Regions from separate parts of the Homo sapiens genome. Here region 2 is linked to region 1. Evidence: promoter capture Hi-C in 16 types of primary human blood cells and fetal thymus (Javierre and others, 2016). All regions are on one chromosome and are shown on one strand. The core of a region is centred on a gene start or on the middle of the fragment in contact, and the rest is flanking DNA. Distances in the headings are between cores, read along the strand shown.

The links. Contacts are between HindIII fragments. The CHiCAGO score rates a contact against its expected background, and 5 or more counts as called.
Region 2: a fragment that was not itself captured here is called in contact with the fragment with the promoter of SNX19 in region 1 in 3 of 17 cell types (total B cells, non-activated CD4 T cells and total CD4 T cells); the score reaches 11.7 in total B cells.

Annotation. Positions count from the first base shown.
Region 1 is chr11:130,913,149-130,920,253 of GRCh38, reverse strand. SNX19 (sorting nexin 19) reads left to right here and starts at 3,775. Exons shown (of 11, transcript NM_014758.3): 1 at 3,775-5,988. The coding sequence starts at 4,315. RefSeq lists a silencer at 3,583-3,862 and an enhancer at 3,983-4,032. The HindIII fragment of the contact is 12,734 bases long and covers 1-7,105 here.
Region 2 is chr11:20,387,956-20,395,060 of GRCh38, reverse strand. PRMT3 (protein arginine methyltransferase 3) reads right to left here. Exons shown (of 16, transcript NM_005788.4): 2 at 6,907-7,042; 3 at 5,235-5,317; 4 at 2,801-2,850; 5 at 2,062-2,164. Among named protein-coding and RNA genes, the nearest start is that of PRMT3, 3.8 kb to the right of the region's middle. RefSeq lists enhancers at 6,475-6,524, 6,380-6,986, 6,987-7,105 and a silencer at 7,075-7,105. The HindIII fragment of the contact is 1,671 bases long and covers 3,061-4,731 here.

The sequences.
Region 1 (7,105 bases), core at 2,526-5,025:
GCAAAGCCACAGGAGTGGAGCTGCCCAAGACCATGGGAACCCACTTTTTGAATCAATTTTGGAGTGTTAAGATTTGACTGCCCCACTGGATTTCGGACTTTCATGGGGCCTGCAGCCCCTTTGTTTTGGCCATTTATCCCATTTGAAATGGCTGTATTTACCCAATACCTGTACCCCCATAGTATCTAGGAAGTAACTAACTTGCTTTCGATTTTGGAAGCTCATGGGCAGAAGGGACTTGCCTTGTCTTGGATGAGACTTTGGACTGTGGAATTCTGAGATAATGCTGAAATGAGTTAAGACTTTGAGGGACTGTTGGGAAGGAATGATTGGTTTTGAAATGTGAGGATATGAAATTTGGGAGGGGCCAGGGGTGGAATGATATGGTTTGGTTCTGTGTCTCCACCCAAATCTCATCGTGAATTGTAACTCCCACAATTCCAATGTGTCATGGGAGGAACCCGGTAGGGGATAATTCAATCATGGGGGCAAGTCTTTCCCATTGTTCTCATGATAGTGAAGAAGTCTCATGAGACTGATGGTTTTATAAAGAAGAGTTCTCCCACACAAGTTCATTTCTCTTTTTGCCTGCTGCCATTCACGGAAGATGTGACTTGCTCCTCCTTGCCTTCTGCCATAATTGTGAGTCTTCTCCAGCCATGTGGAACTGCAAGTCCAATTAAGCCTCTTTCTTTTGTAAATTGCCCAGGCTCCGGTGTGTCTTTATCAGCAGCATGAAAATGGACTAATACAATACTAAACACCTCCAGAGAAAATAACTCAACCATATGTATTGGTGCCACTACAAAAAGGTCCCTCAGCCCCACCTTCTCTCTTTTTTTTTTTTTTTAGACGGAGTCTCGCACTGTTGCCCGGGCTACTGGAGTGCAATGGCACAATCTCGGATCACTGCAATCTCCACCTCCTGGATTCACGCGATTCTCCTGCCTCAGCCCTCCGAGTAGCTGGGATTACAGGAGCACACCATCACACCTGGCTAATTTTTTTGTATTTTTAGTAAAGACGGGGTTTCACTATGTTAGCCATACTGGTCTTGAACTCCTGATCTCGTGATCTGCCTGCCTCAGCTTCCCAAAGTGCTAGGATTACAGGCATGAGCCACTGCGCCCAGCCCCCACTTCATCTTTTTACCTGACCTTCGATAGCTCCCTTTCTATATCCCACAGCAATAATTCCATACCATCGCCTCTTCTCACTCACTTGCCCCATCACTGAGCTTCTCTTTAGGAAGCCTCCTGGTCTTCTATTTTGAGAGAAAATTCAAGTGGGGTGCGGGCTGGCTCTGGCAGGGCCTATGTCACGGGCCCCCCTGCTCTCATGGTCTCTGCCTGTTTCTTATGAGCAGGCCTCTGCCTGAAAGACCTTCCTTCTGTTTGCCCCTTGCTCTCGCTACCCAACATTTCCTAAAATACACTCAATTCTTTTTCATTTCCCAACTTAAGGGAAAACTGTCTATGAGCCACCCCCCTCCACAGCTGACCACCCGCTTTGTGTTTCGATTTTATTGTATGCACTTCTATTACAACACATCAGAACACATCACATTACACACGTGATCATGTTTCATTACGTTTATATATTTATGTGTCTCTCCTTTAACTAGACTGAGAGTCCCTTGAGGAGAATTATTGTATCTTATTTGTCTTGTTTTCTCCAACACTCTAGCACTATGCCTTTAATGTTTTGAGAAATAGGGAAAAGGAAAGAAGGAAGGACGTCTCCAGATGGTGAGTGGTGTGGCCAAGTCTCCCCACCCCACATACACACACCAGGGCACATCAGTCCTGACTCTCACCTCCTCCCAGTGATTAATCTGTTTGGAGACCAGGGTCTGCCCAGACCCCCAGGCAGGAGCTCACACCCGTCCAAATGACAAGTGCACGGGCATGTCCATCAAACCCGCTTCAGAATCAGGAAGGCACTCTTGGCTACCTTGATGCTCCAGACCATCTGGTCAGGTGGCATAGCGCCCACTTGCAAGGTCACTTCCTTACTGCCCTGAACACTCCAGATTATGCTGCCAAGTAAACTTTCTCTTTGAACTGCCACAGGAAGTCTTCAGCACCGTCGGTAGTCCCTTCATCATTCACATTTCTGTTTTAGCTCCCAACTAGGTGGCAGGGACTTTTCTCCAGAGCATTGTTGCCATTTTCTAAGTGCTCCTGAGGACATTAGAATGGTCTGGGAAGGTAGAGGGGCAGAGCCCACTTCTCGGGTTCCTTTTCTGCGGGAAGGCAGGCAGCAGTGAAAAGGTATGGACCGTGAAACCGTGGATTCACATTCTGCCATCTCACGGGAGTGCCCAGTCTGCTTAGTGGACACTGATCCTAAATCAAACCATTTGCTTTAGAAGTGATGAATCGTAAACTACGGGTCACATCTAAATGATGGCTTCTTTCGTATTCAAAGGAAGTCTCTGCCCCAACAGCAGCAATGGACGAGACAGGAAGCTGCAACGCACTTCTTGTTGGCAGAGTTTTGGGTTGGGATTTGTTTGAAGATTCCTTTAAACATCTAGGGAGTAGTCCATGATGATGAAAGACTGCTCACAGCACAGAGAAGGTGGACGAAGGGCAACCATGAGCAGCTCTGTGCAAACGATGCGAATCCTATGCCTAAATGGAAAGGAGACCCACCCTGCGGGCACAGCTCCTAGGGCCCAAGGTGGACATGGAAGCTGGCTTCACGCAAAACTGACACTAACACTTTTGACACCTGGTCAGTGCTTCCGGTATTTTGTCTTCCTATAGGTTCCTGTGTAGACAAGTGAAGTCTAATTTGCTAAAACCAAAAACAATCCAACATAGAGCATATTCCAAAGCAAATATATTACAGGATTATCTGAAAGGACACCTCTATCTCTGCTTTCCTTTTCTATGTTTTTGGGGAGGATAAGGCGAGAAGAGATAGAGGGAAATAGAAACCCTCATCCTTGAAGACTCAGCAGAAAGGCACCTTTTCTGTGAGCTTCTCCTTAACCATTGCAACCCACAGTGATCTCTCCTTCCCCTGAATTCCTATAAGATTTTGTATTTTACTATATCGCACGCTGACTGGCATTACTAGATAGCCAATCGCGTTCAAAGCGCTGGCATCCCCAGTTAGCAGGAGGTCCTGGAGGACAAGGTCTGCTTCTATTCGTCCACGCTGCCTCTCACATTGAAGACAGCAGATGCTCAAAATATTTGATTGTTTGTGTAATGCCACCAGCAAATAACCCTCAATCACAAATTTGATTTTGTGATACAGTATATGAAATGTACAACATAAATCTATCTCTGTATCGTTTCATGCCTTATATTCTGCAATTCCTGACAACAAATGAGGGTCTTTGTGCTGGGGACGCGGGGTACCGGCTCTAGGGGAAACCGGATAAATGTTAAGACACATCAGGCCAATGAAACTTCGCCTCCATGAAATTAAAATAAACCGGATTATTGACAGCGTGCCTAAGCAGTAAAGGACAGGCTTCATTTAATAACCAGAACTAGGACGCGTTTTAAAGCGCCTGGAAGTCTGGGTCTTAGCGGTGATTGCTGCGGCGGCTGTTTCGTGGCACTTCGGAAATCTGCGCCAGCTCTTGGCGAGCACGCGCCCCGTGCGCGCTCAGGCTCACGCTCAGGCTCAGAGACTACCTCGCGCAGGGCCGTCAGGGCGGCTCCTCGCCAGCAGAGGGCGCCGGGCAGCGCCGCTCCTCGGGGCGCGCGCGGACGCTCTCCCAGCATGCCTCGCTCCCGTCGACGTCGACCCGGAAGCTGTCGCCGGCGGCCGGCCGGCGGTCAGCCTTCACACAGGCCCGGCTGCGGAGCGCAGTCGCCCAGGTTTACGGCGGCAGAGGGCCGAGGCTCCCGGAGAGGACCGCGATGAGTCCACTTCAGGTCGGGGCTGAGTGTGGGCGCGCGGTTCCCGGCGGCGTGTGACCCAGTCTTCGCCGGCCGCTGCCCGCTGCGTGTGTAAGTGTCCGTGGGCCCCAGGGCCTTGCAGCGCCCGCCCCGAGGCCCCGAAGAGGCCTTCCGCCTGGGGCAGTGTGAAGGCCACAGAGTTTTCCTCCAAAGCCACACCTCAGCTGGAAGGGGCGAGTTGGAGGGCTCTGTTAGTGGTAGCCATGGGGAGACGCGGAGCTGCAGCTGTCGCTTTGCAGTGCCTGTAGGACTTTGAGGGCCTGGAGCCCCGGTTCCCTGAACAGCACCCAGATCGCCCCATATCTGAGACACAGTTCATGCCCCCCTTCCCTAACTCTGAAGTAAAATCTTGAGGGCTGTCATCTGGGGAAGCCACCTTGTCCGTTCAGCCATGAAGACAGAAACAGTGCCACCGTTCCAGGAAACTCCAGCTGGATCGAGCTGTCACCTCAATAACCTGTTGAGTAGCCGGAAGCTGATGGCTGTGGGGGTCTTGCTTGGCTGGCTCCTGGTCATACACCTTCTGGTCAACGTGTGGCTGCTGTGCCTTCTGTCGGCATTGCTAGTGGTGCTGGGAGGATGGCTGGGCTCCAGCCTCGCTGGAGTGGCTTCAGGTCGACTGCATCTGGAACGCTTCATCCCGTTGGCCACCTGTCCTCCATGCCCTGAGGCAGAAAGGCAGCTGGAACGGGAGATCAACCGCACCATCCAGATGATTATTCGAGATTTTGTGTTATCTTGGTACCGTTCCGTGAGCCAGGAGCCAGCCTTTGAGGAAGAAATGGAGGCAGCCATGAAAGGGTTGGTCCAGGAGCTTCGGAGAAGGATGAGCGTGATGGACAGTCATGCTGTTGCCCAGAGTGTTCTGACTCTCTGCGGTTGTCACCTGCAGAGCTACATTCAGGCAAAGGAGGCCACTGCAGGGAAGAATGGTCCAGTTGAGCCTTCCCACCTCTGGGAGGCTTACTGCCGGGCGACTGCCCCACATCCTGCTGTGCACAGCCCCAGTGCTGAAGTCACCTATACGCGTGGCGTTGTGAATTTGTTGCTTCAAGGGCTGGTGCCCAAGCCCCACTTGGAGACTCGTACCGGACGCCATGTAGTGGTCGAACTCATCACATGCAATGTAATCTTACCACTGATCAGCAGGCTGTCAGATCCTGACTGGATCCACCTTGTACTCGTGGGTATCTTTTCCAAGGCCAGAGATCCAGCACCCTGCCCAGCCAGTGCCCCCGAACAGCCCTCAGTGCCGACATCTCTGCCACTGATTGCTGAGGTAGAGCAGCTTCCAGAAGGGAGAGCTTCTCCAGTAGCAGCCCCAGTATTCCTAAGTTACAGTGAGCCAGAGGGTTCTGCAGGCCCCTCTCCAGAGGTTGAAGAAGGCCACGAAGCTGTAGAGGGAGATTTGGGTGGGATGTGTGAAGAAAGAAAAGTAGGAAACAACTCATCTCATTTCCTACAGCCAAATGTTCGAGGTCCCCTGTTCTTATGTGAAGACTCAGAGCTGGAGTCTCCGCTGTCTGAACTGGGCAAAGAAACCATCATGCTCATGACTCCAGGCAGCTTTCTCTCTGACAGGATTCAGGATGCCCTGTGTGCCCTAGAGAGTTCCCAGGCTCTGGAACCCAAAGATGGTGAGGCATCTGAAGGAGCAGAGGCTGAGGAGGGTCCAGGGACAGAAACAGAGACAGGCCTGCCGGTCTCCACACTGAATTCCTGCCCAGAGATCCATATTGACACAGCAGACAAGGAGATAGAACAAGGAGATGTTACCGCCTCTGTTACAGCTTTGCTGGAGGGGCCAGAAAAGACCTGCCCCTCACGGCCGTCATGCTTAGAGAAGGATCTCACCAATGATGTGAGCTCCCTTGATCCTACTCTGCCACCAGTTCTGCTTTCCTCCTCTCCACCTGGTCCTCTCAGCTCAGCCACCTTCAGCTTTGAGCCCCTAAGCAGTCCCGATGGTCCAGTTATCATCCAGAACCTTCGTATCACTGGCACCATTACAGCCCGAGAGCACAGTGGCACTGGATTCCACCCATACACACTCTATACTGTGAAGGTAACAGGATTAAAGCTGTGGGTGCTCACCCGGGCTAGGAGTGGGTTTGGAAAGCAGTCATGAAGCAAATGTTCTTGGGGGAGAGATGCTGTTAGTTTGAAGTGGTTCTTTCAATAGGCATCTATCTCTGTGAATGGTCTGAAGCTAATATGTAAGGCAGAGTAGCGTTTATCCTGTACTCACACAAGCAATCCTGGAACCTCAGGGCTGCTAGAATGCTGAGGGTTATATTTTCAGTGGTTCCCAAACTTGGCTGCACCTCAAAATCACTTGAGCTGCCTTTCAGATATACAGATTCTGACAGACTCTGTTGGATTCTGTATGAGAATTTCTAAGGAGGGGGTCCCTGGATTCTGTATTTTATTTATTTTCAAATAGAACTCTCCAGATAACATAGAGTCAGCCTGTCCTAAGGCCATCTTGGGGAATTGCCTCTCTAATCCAACCAACCCTCTTCATGTTATCTCTTGTCAAGTTGTTCCCAAGTCTGCTTACACACCTCCAAGAGTCAAAAACTTGCTATCTTCTGAGATAGACATAGGTAAATAACCTACCTTCCTAAAACAAAGTACAAAATGTACCAGTATTTTGAAAAAGAAATCAGCAGGGAAGAAGTTGAGAAAGAAAATTCTTGGACAAGATCCTACCCATTGGATTTTACTTGCCTTCCACACTTGAATTTCTCTCATTTGAGTCCACAAGCTACCACCAGGGACAGCCTGCTTGCTACACTCCTCCGAACTCCCAATCCAACTAAGAGGGAAAAGACCTTCCTTGATCTGCTCAACACAGCTGCATCATGACATAGCATTTTAGAAAGTAACATTATGACATTTTCAAGTAAGACGGAATGGAAGTAATTAGAAATGCATATGGGTGAACACACAGACACACACTCATTATAGGCAAATTGTAGAAGTACAGATGTCTGGTCATAAAATAACTGAGACTAGCCTCAAAGGACTGGTATAACTTTGTTAACATTTTCCTGCCTTTTTGTTCTAATTCTGGATGCCCCTATGCCATGCACCTTTCTCACATTTAAGTGTTGGCTTCTGGTTATTTCATCTTTTTTTAATGACTATTCCAATACTGACATAAAACAGCAGGTTTTTTC
Region 2 (7,105 bases), core at 2,647-5,146, about 110 Mb after region 1:
ATTAAGTGACTATCCTAAAGTTATATATCTGTTTATGGAGGAACTAAGATTTAAACCCAAACCTGCCTTCCCAGCCCACGTTCTTCCCATTACACAAAGCCACCTCCTAGCCCATGTCCTTATTGTAGCAGGTATTAAATTCAGATATTGCTTAAGGGAAATCCTGCCATATATGAAAATATGAATGAACATGGAGGACATTATGTGAAGCAAAATAAGCCAGACACAAACAGACAAATACTGTGTGATCTCACTCTTGTGTGGAATTAAAAAAAAACTCACAGCAGCAGAGAGTGGAATGGTGGTGGAAATGAGGAGATGTTGGTCAAAGGGTACACACTTTCAGCTACAAGATGAGTAAGTTCTGGGCATCTGTCTATTGTAAAGTGACTATAGTTAAAAATGCTGCACTGTATACTTGAAATTTGCAGACAATAGATCTTAACTGTTCTCACCACAAAAATAAAAAAATGGAATGTGAGGTGATGATGTTAATCAGCTTGGTTATGGTAATCATTTCACAATGTATATGCATATCAAATCATCACATTGTATACCTGAAATGTACACAATTTTCACTTATCAATTATACCTGAATAAAACTGGAGGAAAAAAAAAACATTCCTAAGGACAGCGTGTAAAGAATTCTACACATTCAATAATTTTTCATCCTGGGCAAGGTGGAGTGAAATCTATACACTAAAGTCTTATTGCTGATATTATTAAATATCCTAATTCCTAGTATTTAATTTTAATTTCACTTCTCTACAAAGAGAAGTTAATATATGTAGTTAGTGAATTTCACAAAATCAGTGTCCATTTACTGATCTAACTTTCGGATCAACTTAAGGCAGTGAGCAGTGCAAATATTACATTTTCCCCTCAGGATAGCACTGGAAGAAATGTGACTTCGTAAAAATTCCTATTCATTTTTTAGTTGTGAAGACACGTCCTTGGAATTAGGACAAAATAGCTAAGCCAAACGAATGCATTATACTATAAGAGACTACAGCCTAAGTTGAATTCTTGTTATAAAAGCAGTGCAGGGTGTCACTAACTTCTCATCACTGTGGCAGAATATTGAGTCACTGAGGTTTAAAAACTGCATCATTCACTATCTAATTCACCAAAAATTAATCAGCACAACAAAATATTTCCAAACTATATAAGGCTGGTATACTGTATTTTCTACTTCCTACTACAAACCTCATTTTGTATTTTGATTTCAAAATTCTTCAAACTGTTTGGCCAGTTTCTGTTTTGCTTTCTGCTGCAATAAAAATTAGTCATAATAAAAACTTTTTAATGTTAAGAATATGCAGATAATTATATATTAAAGATTAAACTTAGAGATTTGAAAAAAAGAGGATTCAGTAAATATTAAGATTCCTAACTACAATTTGCTAGAACAGTCTAATTCAAAGGCCTAAACCATATTCAGAAAGATGAACATCTACATCTACCTTCTGTCTCAGGATGTTCAAATCACCTGGATACTTCTTTCGGGCAGAGAAGAATTACTGCAAAGGCTGACCAATTTTTCAGTAAAATATAACAATTATAAATGTGTATAAACCTCACATAAGAGCTCCAAAATACATGAAGCAATTAAAGGCAAAACCAGACAATCTTTTGATCACAGAGTTTTTAGTTTTTTTAGACAGAGTCTTGCTCTGTCACCTGTATACCAGGTTCAAGTGATTCTCCTGCCTCAACCTCCCGAGTAGATGGGACTACAGAAGCCCGCCACCATGCCCGGCTAATTTTTTGTATTTTTAGTAGAGATGGGGTTTCACTGTGTTAGCCATGATGGTCTGGATCTCCTGACCTCGTGATCTGCCCTTTTAGCCTCCCAAAGTGTTGGGATTACAGGCGTGAGCCGCCACACCTGGCCGACTATTAGTTTTTAAGCAACTTAACTTTTCTACTGAAACTAACTACCTGATGAAGCATTTAGATAATTTTAAAAAGCATGTCTTTTCCTAAAACACTCTACCTCCATTTTGCCGTTAACAAACGGCCTTATGTTAATTAAAGGAGATACACTTATGTTCATCTTACCAAATTGAAGTAAAAGGTCATCTTCTAATACTGGCTTCAAATACTCTTCTTTCTCCCAAGGCACTGGGTTGTATATGGAATTCATGTACTCAACTGTAGGATTCTGGATATAAAATTAATCTCATGTTTTTTTCATTACATATAATCACAAAATCCCCTTAGTAAAAACTACAGAAATTAAACAAAAAGGAAATCATGTTTGCATTACACAAAGTCAGTATGTCTCCAAAAAGTCTACGTGCCTGTCATTTCATTAACTTGCTGGACGACTGCTTAACCAGCAGTTTCAACGCAGAGTTTTTTTTACTGTTTGGATTTGGGGAAAGCGTTGTCATGTCATTAAACATTCATTTAAACAGGACAAAAAAAAAAAAAAACAAAGTATCTGAAAAAAAACAGAATAAAAAAGAGCAACCAAAATACTTAAAATCACATTAGAAATTATTTCTGATTTTACAGATCCTGTCCATCAGTATTTCCCTTTATTTGACACTGAATTACTTTTTCACATACACCGATTCATCTCTTAGATGCAGTGAAAACAATATTTGTTAGTTATGGTAGACATTTACATGGTGCTTTCTGCTGTGCTACCTCCTAATGTCCGTGATTCCCCCAATATGATGAGTACCAAATTTAATGCAGTTCCTCATATTCTTTTAAATAATCAGTACACTGACAGTCACTGTAGCATTTCTTTGATTTCTAAACGAAATTATAAATTAAGCTGTCAACTTACCTTAAGTCTAATAAAATTTATTAGCTTAATGTATCCATAAAATTCAAGTCCTAAAGGGGGAAAAAGATAATTCACCTATGTTAACATAATGAGTTTTGTTTAACTGACCTATTCTATAAAGCCTTCTCTGATTAAACAATAAAATAATTCTGACCTCTAAATTACTACTTATATTTTGAATTTTATTAAGAATTAGAAGTAGTAATACAATGATACTTCTGAATATCTTGAGAAGCAGCCATAAATGACAAATTAAAGCTTTTCTAGTATTTCTAAAAAGATGGAAAACTGATTTCTAAAATTCTACTCCTCCTTTGTCAGAACAATACAAATCTGGAAAATTAAGATCCACATTTTACCAAGTATTTGGCAACTGATATCAGAGCTGAAAGTATTAAATCCCTAATTTTTATGGTGTGTATCAAATTATAATTTTGCCAGGACATGGTGTATACTAGCTTTTACATGAAGTTAAATGATGCAAGCCCAATAAGGCTTGTTATCTGGTTCTCGTATCTTTCCAGAAATGAAGCAGCATTTAAAACAAAGGAAAGCAGTAATACATCCAACCAACCAATTATTTGTCATAAAACTCTTGTTATGAGAAAACTTTAATAGTATACAAACCCCCTATATCGGTAAGTAAAAAAAAAACAAAACAAAATTCTATCTTAAGTATGATTCTAATACTTTAGAAATGCAACATTAAAAACATTAAGGCTGGGCACAGTGGCTCATGCCTGTAACCCCAGCACTTTGGGAGGCCAAGGCAGGCGGATCACCTGAGGTCGGGAGTTCCAGACCAGCCTGACCAACATGGAGAAACCCTGTCTCTCCTAAAATACAAAATTAGCCAGTGTGGTGGCGCATGCCTATAATCCCAGCTACTTGGGAGGCTGAGGCAGGAGAATCACTTGAACCCGGGAGGCGGAGGTTGCAGTGAGCCGAGATCGTGCCATTGCACTCCAGCCTGGGCAACAAGAGCGAGACTCCGTCTCAAAAAAAAAACAAAAACAAAAAACATTAAAAAATGAGGCTGTCATTTATGCCTTACGAAAGTACTTGCAGTTGAATTTATGATTTATAAACATGTGATATCACGTATTTATCTGACACTGAAACACCTGTTAGTATTTGCTATTCTTCAGTAATGTCCCTTCTTAGTTGTCAACAAATATAGGGACCAAAAAACCTATTATTTTTTTTTTTTTGAGACGGCGTCTCAGTCTGTCACCCAGGCTGTAGTGCAGTGGCATGATCTTAGCTCACTGCAACCTCCGCCTCCCGGGTTCAAGTAATTCTCCTGCCTCAGCCTCCCAAGTAGCTGGGACTACAGGCACATGCCACCATGCCCGACTAATTTTTTGTATTTTTAGTAGAGTTGGGTTTTCACTGGGTTAGCCAGGATGGTCTCGATCTCCTGACCTTGTGATCCATCCGCCTTGGCCTCCCAAAGGTTTTCACTGGGTTAGCCAGGATGGTCTCAATCTCTTGACCTTGTGATCCACCTGCCTTGGCCTCCCAAAGTGTTGGAATCACAGGCGTGAGCCACAGCACCTGGCCTATTTAGTTAATTTTATTGTAGTATAGCTCTTCTACATCCATTTAAAGTGGAAGGCCTTAATTGTAAGGCAAGTGTGTTTAAATAAAAGTTTCAATAGAAACATCACCTGAGTATTTTGCATATTAATCTTAACTTCATCACTCTTTTTCCAGTCTCTACCGAACTTTGTATAAAACTCAGTCTCGTAGGCTGTGAAGTTCATGTCATGCTTTGAGCTGATTGTCTTTTTTCAAATGACCTGCGTCCTTTTTCAAGTCCTACATCTACACTTGCTCTCCCTAAATCTAATATGTAATCACATAAAATGTAAAAATGTAATCACATGCCAAGTCTGTTTTTGTTTTTAGTTGAAAAGCTAATATAAGCTTAAATACAGTGAATCTTGTCTAGAAGAGTGACTTATTCATCTTTTCTCAAGGACCGCTTGTCAAAAAAACTCCATTTCCACAAGATGTTGCTGTGTGATTCGCCATATTAAACTCGTACAGAAAAGGGTCTGAAAAACTATAAAATCTGAACTTATATTTCACAGATTTTTTTTTTTTTTGAGAAGAGTCTCACTCTGTTGCCCAGGCTGGAGTGCAGTGATACCATCTCAGCTCACTGCCACCTCTGCCTCCCAGGTTTAAGCAATTCACCTGCCTCAGTCTTCTGAGCAGCTGCTATTACAGGTGTGCGTCACCACACCCAGATAACTTTTGTATTTTAGTACAGGTGGGGTTTCAGCATGTTGGCCAGGCTGGTCTTGAACTCCCGACCTAAAGTGATCCACCCACCTCAGCCTCCCAAAGTGCTGGGATTACAGGTGTGAGCTGCCATGCCTGCCCAAATTTCACAAATTAAATTGCCTTTATTCTAAAAACTACTCACCATGTTTATGAACCATGCTGTCAATATTAAACTGATGCTCAGACTTACAGTGTGAAAATGTTTCTTCAGCAGATGTGAATAACCTGAAAAATCAAGCAATAGCTTCATGGAATAGTCCCCTAAGAAGTCTAAATACTGATTTCATGTTACATATACACTTTTTTTTTTTTTTTAACTCTGCTGGTTTCTAGTTTTACTTCCAATTAAGAAAAAACAAACACACTTGTATCTGAAAGGAAGGGAATCCAGCACTTTTAAAGGGAATTAGTACTTCTGAGTCCCATTTTATACCTAAAACCAATTATCCTTTAAATGTCAAAGTGAATTTATTTGTCAAATAATATCACTGATTTTATCAAAAGGCTTTTAAGAGAGTTCCCTTTGATAGAGTCTGTTTCTCTCAAGTCATACAATTTCTCTACTTGAGATTCTTTTCTCCTCTAAGTGTCAACTCTGCTTTCAGAGGCTTTGAACTGGCACAGCTCAAACTGCTTTTAGAAATAAAGCATAAAATGTAATTTTACAGCTGGCATACTCCCCAAGTGCCTTATTTCAAAAGTGATCTTGTAGTATTCCCAACGTACTTGCATCACAGACACTGTGAGGATCAATCCTCTTTATTATGTGACATGCAAATCTGAAGGCTACTTAAAGACAGGAATACACAGCAGAGAAGCTGTATACCTTATCTATATTCCTAACACATGTGGAGCATTAGTTTTCCACAAATGTTTACCGAGATAGGTTATGTCGACTATTTATGGAGGCTATCACAGCCACGGTACCACTGGTGCTCAATAAATATTTTATGACAACTAGAATATATACAGGCATTCTATCTACCCAATGGGGCTACAGATGAGAACACTAACGCACCACCACTCAGCACCATGCCCAGATACAGGGAACACTGGAAAATGTATTAAAGTAACACCGGCCAATGCCAACCGGGCCTCTTTCATGCCTACTTGCCTAGGACAGGAGCCAAAGCTTCCCAAGACTAACAGGCAGAATTTTAAGTGGCAAGAATGTGAGTTTGGAAATAAGCACACCACAGCTTTGTGACCTTGAGCAAATTATTGATACTACAGTCTTTTTCCTTAAGTGAAAAGTCCTACTTAAGTAAGGTGAACTTCCTTCTTAGACTATGGAAACCGCTCAAATAAAAAAGAAATGTTTCACCTGAGAAGCTCTGTACTGGTCAAAGAATTAGCATGGTAAAGCCGGAAGGCTCCGTAGGGATTATCTAGTTCAGGGTGGCTGCCAAATATGTTACTCGTTAGTAGTAACTCGTTAGTAACTTCACTGTTACTTCCGATCTTGTCCTCATAAAAACAGAATATTCTTAGACCCCATCCCTGACTTGGAAGGATTCAGGTGCAGAGTTCAGTATCATTTTGTTTTCAGCGTCTCAAGTGACAAGATTTGGGAACCACAGATTCAATGCACTACCAGTCAAAAGCTTGCAGTACAACCGGCCTTCCAGTTCACGGTTCCCCCTCTCTACTACCGAGGGTCCTCCTTCTCCACAAGCCCTCACCCCAGACCAGTGGTTCCAGAATTCAAAGACAGGCCACTCTGGCTTGCCTCCCGCCCGAAGGCGTTCCTGGGCACACAGACCCCACGCGCCCGGGCACCCTAGGGCAGAGGCCAGGCGCTGAGGCGGACGAACCTGTTACAGAACAGGCAGGGGGTCTGCTGCTTGCCGTGGGGGAGATCTGCATCGTCCTCATCCTCCCAGGCGGCCTCGTCCCCGCTGTCCGACAGTTCTGGCAGGTCCTCCTCATTCTCCACAGCGCCCCGGCCGCCTAACACACACACACAACAATCAGATCGGCCTCGGACACCGGTGCGGCCCGGGGGCTCGAGGA